Linked DNA regions of Homo sapiens: region 2 is linked to region 1. The links are contacts of gene promoters, found by promoter capture Hi-C in human tissues and cell types (Jung and others, 2019). All regions are on one chromosome and are shown on one strand. The core of a region is centred on a gene start or on the middle of the fragment in contact, and the rest is flanking DNA. Distances in the headings are between cores, read along the strand shown. Region 1 holds the start of BTLA (B and T lymphocyte associated). Region 2 overlaps CD200R1 (CD200 receptor 1).

Evidence for each region. Contacts are between HindIII fragments. The study calls those that stand out against the background at their distance.
Region 2: a contact is called between a fragment that was not itself captured here and the fragment with the promoter of BTLA in region 1, in 1 of the 25 tissues and cell types used here (dorsolateral prefrontal cortex).

Annotation. Positions count from the first base shown.
Region 1 is chr3:112,497,709-112,501,000 of GRCh38, forward strand. BTLA (B and T lymphocyte associated) reads right to left here and starts at 1,764. Exons shown (of 5, transcript NM_181780.4): 1 at 1,563-1,764. The coding sequence starts at 1,650. RefSeq lists enhancers at 228-347, 1,216-1,265, 1,356-1,485. The HindIII fragment of the contact is 5,711 bases long and covers 1-3,292 here.
Region 2 is chr3:112,966,876-112,969,944 of GRCh38, forward strand. All of the region lies in intron 1 of CD200R1 (CD200 receptor 1), which reads right to left. Among named protein-coding and RNA genes, the nearest start is that of CD200R1, 6.7 kb to the right of the region's middle. The HindIII fragment of the contact is 4,924 bases long and covers 1-3,069 here.

The DNA of each region.
Region 1 (3,292 bases), core at 514-3,013:
TTTTACTTTGCACTTGGTTGTGTGGCATCCTGGCATCATAGAGACATATTCCAAACTACACAGTTTAAAATTATAGATAGACTTTCCATAGAACCTCAGTGGCCAGATTTTCTAATTTAAAATTGCAGTAGCCAAACTGATAAATGTGTGCTTGTAGGGAATAATAAGACAGAATATTTAAAACCTGAAAAATCACTGGGCATGGTGGCTCATACCTGTAATCCTAGCACTTTGGGAGGCTGAGGCAGGTGGATCACTTGAGGTCAGGAGCTCCAGACCAGCCTGCCCAACATGCATTGCATCCATAGCTTGGCTGACTTTCTTAAAAAACAGGTTGATGGCAAGAAAAGAGAACTGAGTAGATGTTATAAATAGTTAAGTACAAATCTATCACTACTTCTTGCGAAAATGCTCAGGCTGCCACACTGATGATGAATAGATAGCTCGTTCTTCCCAAACTGAGTGCAGTAGAGTGTTGCAGTGCTCAGTTGGGTAGGACAGATGTTGGATAATTGGGGTTATCCAACATCTCTACTAAAAATACAAAAATTAGCTGTGCGTGGTGGAAGGTGCCTGTAATCCCAGCTACTAGGGACGCTGAGGCAGGAGAATAAATTGAACCCGGGAGGAAGAAGAATCGATTGAACCCGGGAGGCAGAGGATGCAGTGAGGCGGGATCACGCCATTGCACTCCAGCCTGGGTGACGAGAGCAAAACTCTTGTCTCAAAAAAATAAAAAAATAAAACCTGAAAAATCAGAAGCTTCTGATGAGCCACTCATAGGCTTTTCCTCTTGATAATATGTGGGTTCCTATGCAATATAAGGTAGGAAGCGACTTTACAATAAAAAAGAAATTGCCTTTTTTTTTTTTTTTTTTTTTTTGCCTGTATAAAGTCTTTGCAGGGGTGGCTAAATATCATCTTTGCAGAATCCAACTTATTTTCTGTGTTCAATTGACAACCAAGTAGGAACCATTCCCTTTCAACAAAATAGAAGCAATGACGAAAAGTTCTGCTCCTATATTTTGTAGCATTTTCTCAATCGGTATTCTCAAGGCATACATCCCAATGAAGCAAGTATAGAGATTTTATTTAGAGGTAATATTATTTGAGGGTAACCATGGAGATATGTATAATTCCGATTATCCAACAACTGTCCTACCCAACTGAGCACTGCAGCACTCTACTGCACTCAGTTTGGAAAGAACGAGCTATCTATTCATTATCAGTATGGCAGCCAGAGCATTTTTGCAAGAAGTAGTGATAGATTTGTACTTAACTATTTATAACATCTACTCAGTTCTCTTTTCCTACCATCAACATGTTTTTAAGAAAGTCAGCCAAGCTATTGATGCGATGCCTATGATTAGGCAGGTGAATACTATGTTCTAATTTGGTTTATGCTCTACGATGTCTTCGGTAAGCAAATGTAACAGCTTGGTTTCATCTACGATTACCCACTTCGTATAAACGTTACACCGTACTAAGTTCAGCAAGGGAGAATGTTGCCTCCAAGACCCCCTGAGAAATAAAACCAGAAATAACCTAAGCAGGTGCCTTACCATGGATGTTCCAGATGTCCAGATATGGGATTAAGAAGAAGACCCAAAATAATTTCCCAGTTCCAAGCATGGCAGGCAATGTCTTCATTTCCTGCACATATCAGTGATGGAAAAACTGCTCAAGTAGAAGGCTTTGCTTCGTCTTCTGAGTGCTGCAGAGTTGGGTCAGTTTACCTACCCCAGTGGCATCTGTGAAATAACTAAAAAAAAAAAAAAAAGAAGAGAGAGGTGGTAAGAGAGGAGAGTAGGAAGAGCCTGGATGATTTTGTGAAAAAAAGTGAACAGAAAGACGATGTGGTACTCTGTTCTGTGGTTTTTGCTTCTTGTCAGGTTGGCTGTTCACTTTCAAACACTGTGATCTGCAAAGCAGCTCAGTCCTTAACTTCTCCTTCCGCTCTACCACGTTTTTGCCCCAGGTTGAGGTTTTTCCTGCACTCAATGTTCAGTGAAATGAGCAATTAAACTTTAAAGAAATCTGTATTGTTGCAGTCTTTAAGTTGAGATTTTAATCAAATTAAGGTCAGGAAATTTATGGTAAAACTATCAATGGTAAGTATACATTTTCCCCTTTGTGATAGCTTGTGATTATGAAACTTCTTTTATGTAAAAGATTTTAGGTTTCTTTTTTTTCCTGTACATGTCACGGTAAGATGAGGATGCTTATTGTCATTAAACCAGTGAAGATTTATCTCAGGTTATGGAGAAAATGAGTGACAGGAAGCACTTCCTCAACAGAAGAAGGAAGAGCAGCCGTCTTTAATCTGTGGATACATATCAATGGAACAAGATCATCATTAATATTGGCTACATGTTCTCTCTAGATAATAAAGTTCTAATCTAAAGGAGATCTTGAATATCAATTAAAGGAAATTTCCATTTTAAACATTCTTCATGCAGTTGTTGTCTCGATGAAGTAGAATAGAAACAGTAAAGGAAGAAATGGAAAAGTTCAAGATCAGATAGCACAGGCCACCATAGGACTGTTTTCTCCACATCCACTTGTAATAATTAGCTTAGCTTATAGTCATAGGAGCTAATCAAATTCATCTGCCATTTGAGACTCCAAATGAGAGATCTAGATTTGTGGCATTAGTGATCATTGACAGAAGTCGATTATATAAGTTTTTTCCTCAGAGACTGATGATTTTATTCCAAGGCCAAACTTCAATAGTTTTAAGTTCAAGGAAAGTTTTAAGAGCAAGGAAAGTGTATAGATTGCTGGACATTTTGACCTGACATGGGAAACTGATGGGCAATACTTAATTCAGAGCTCCCAGTTGAGTTGCCAAGGGTAAATTAAAATTAAAAAACAGTTATCATGTATTTATTGAGTCAAATAGACAATGTGCTATGGTTGGAGATGAATGATGAATGAGTTGCTATTGCTGATTTTAAAGAACTCGTTCAATCAGTATTACGACTTCCTCACATCCACCTTTAGTGTTGGTCTTATAATATAGTATAATACAGAGAGGGTACACATAGCCTTTTAGAATTTCTGTTACTAATCAAATAAACATCCTGGGAAATATTAAGGCAGTATTTTCACAGCTCCTTCCTTTTCCTGTGTTCACAGTGAGTAAAAGCTTCTTGAGGCAGCTGAAGCAAGGCTCATTGTCCCTTTAAAATGGCCCACAGGTCAAAAGCCATAACCTTATGGCTTATGGGTTACATAAGCCCAAACCAGAGAGAGATCATATTAACTTTATCTCAGCTTAAAACTGTTATGT
Region 2 (3,069 bases), core at 429-2,928, 470 kb after region 1:
TCACTCCCTCCTCAATACCAGCAATCTCGCTGCTCCCACGTCTATCTACTCAAACTGCAATTTTCAAGGTCACCAGCCCTTTTATAGTCAAGCTTTTGGCCTCTTTTCAGTGCTGGTGTTCCTAAGTTGTTGATGGATTTTAACACAATTAACCACTTTCTTCTCCTTCTAAAACCCCTTTCCTAGCCTTCCCACTACACCCATGCATTCCCTTCTCTGTCTCTTTCCCTATCTTCACTGCCTCCTCTCATATATTTTCTACAAGCTATCTTTCTCCTTGGGCATCGTAATGTCAGTATTCACCAAAGTCTCAGCTGCTTTTTCTCTTTACACTTTCTCTCCTCTTGCTCCTTAACCCCTTGAACTTCAACTAGATCTCTATACAGGTGATTTCCTCTTGTTTTCACCACTCCAGTCATAGTTTAGCTCCCTCTGTCCTTCATTAAGCCTGTTTGACCTGCCTGGAATGTTTATCCCTCAACTCTTCTTACCTCGCTGTTTCTGTTCATCTTCATCTTAAACATCACTTCCTTGGAGGAGCCTAACTTGATCCTCAAACCAGATTAGACTCACCAGTTACACATTTCTATGTCACCCTATATTTATCCTTATGCACTTGCGCATTGTTTAATTATTTGCAGTAATTGATTTAATATCTATCTTTCCCACCAGATTTAAATTCCATGAGAGCAGGACCTATGTCTGTCTTGATCAAATGTCCACAGCATGAAGCACAGTGACTGATACATGACAGACACTCTAAATTACTGGCTGACAGAATAACCCACCCACATTTTTGCTTTGACTTATTTTTCCTAAGCAAGAATCTCAAACATTTAGCTGAAATTTGTCCCCACTTGAATACTTGCTGTCATTTCAAGTGTATCACATCTAAAAGACATAGATTTTTCTCCCACACACTTGCCCCATCCCTTTCCCCTCTAATTTTTGTACTATGAAGGTGTTCAAAACTCAGCTCACACCCCAGAAAGCTGTTTGATATGATTAGCAATCCCACATACACACTTGGGCTTTATTTGCCCCATGTATAAAATGAAAGATTTTTAATTTGAAGGTTCCTAAAGTACTTCCTTTGTGAAGGCTTTATACTTCTTAATAGTGTCATACATCTTCATTTCACAAATGAGGAAATTACTGTCAAAAGAAGTTAAGCAATTTCTAAAGATGAAACAGCTAGTGGTTAGAATTACATAACTGATCTTTAGACCCAACACAGAGTTATATTTGTATTTAGAAATTGGTATCTATTGGTATCTAAATTAGTGTCTAGAAATTTTACTAGAAATTATGGGAAAGAAGAACGAAATTTTACTGAGAAAAGTGAAATGTACCAAAACATTCAATGCATGGGTAACATTTAGAAAGCAAAAAAGCATAATAATATATTCAATCTTAACATCCAAGACAATATAACCACTAAGTCAATATTAGTTGTAAAAATACAATAATATTTTAAAATATGTATATTTGAAGAAAGTTTCACTTCTTTATGGGCCAGTGAGTTTCCACAGGTAAGAACTATAAATTGTGGACAAAATATAAAAACAACTACCTGAGGTTACTGGAAAGTGGAGGAAGCAGAAAAATTCTTGAAGGGTGTCAATGCTTGGAAGAAGGAAATAGGGGATCAGAGTTGTGGGTGTAGGTTCCCATTATTTCCCCATTTTTACCGATGTTAGTCCCAGAGAGGGCTGCAGATGATACCACATTAGGCAGCTACTCTAATGGAAAGCCCACAGTTTTCTGAAGAACCAGCAGGCAGATTTTAGGGCAACTTTACTCTCTGAAAAGTGACAGAGTCAGAGTAAAAGAGTTCCAAATTCTGCATACACTCTACCCATATCTCTGATGACTCTAAACCACACATTGCAGGTCACAGTCAAAGCAGATTAGCTACCAGTAAAAGAACTCAGATTTGAGATGCTGTCCAAGGGGTAGAGTTTGCAGTTTGGGTCCAACCAAGTAAAATATCAACACAGCAATATAACAGAATCTGTGCAACATTCAAAACCCAAATAAAACTATTTAATTTACAAAGAACCAAGAAAATGTGGCCTATGCTTAGGAGAAAATACATTAAGGGAGACTAACAACTTCAAGTTGACCCAGACACTCGCATTCTCAGACAAGAGTCTTACAGCAACATTCAGCTATGCTTAGTGACATAAAGAAATATATACTCACAATGAATGAATAAAAACACAGAAAAATCTCAGCAGAGAAAAAAAACTTTTAACAAATAAATGGAAATCTTAAAATTGAAAAATACAATATCTAAAATAATATATTAACTAGGGCTTTACAGAAGAATGAAGAGGAGAAAGGAAATTGTAATTGTCAGTGAACTTGAATATATAGCAATAGAAATTATTCAATCAAAAGAACAGAGAGACAAGATATTGGGGAAAATATGTATAAAAAGGGAACTAAGAACTAAGAGAACTCCTCACTAGCAGACCTACACTACTAGAAACAATAACAGAAATTATTCAGGATGAAAGAAAATAATACCAGGTAGAAACTTGGAAATTCAAGAAGGAATTAAGAGTATTAGAAATGACAACTAGAGTGGACATAGTATGTGCCACCAACAGTTGCCTCTGACTTTTTGTTCCTGCCACTAGGATCACTGTCAACAGACAGTCTTCAGTTTTCAGCCTCTCCAGGGATGACTTCAGTTACTTAGACCAAAGTCAGACCCTTTCCAGGGGAGCCCATATCCAACGACTGATTTAGATGGAGTTATAAAGGAACAGCCATTTTTATTCAATGCAGGGCCTCTCTAAGGCCAATCTAGCTCCTGAGCTCCCTGTGGGGTCAGTGAGGGTGTCAGTTGGTTGAGATTGCAGGTAGACTTCTCCCTCTGCTCACAAGCATACTGTACACAAAACTCTATCTCAGAGTCTAACTTCCAAGAGAACCTGCAACAGCAACAATAACTCAAAGTAACAGACATTTTTGAAGAAAATTATTTCTTCAAAAGTGGAAAAACTGGCCAGGTACAGTGACTCACGCCTGTAATTCCAACACTTTGGGAGGCCAAGGCAG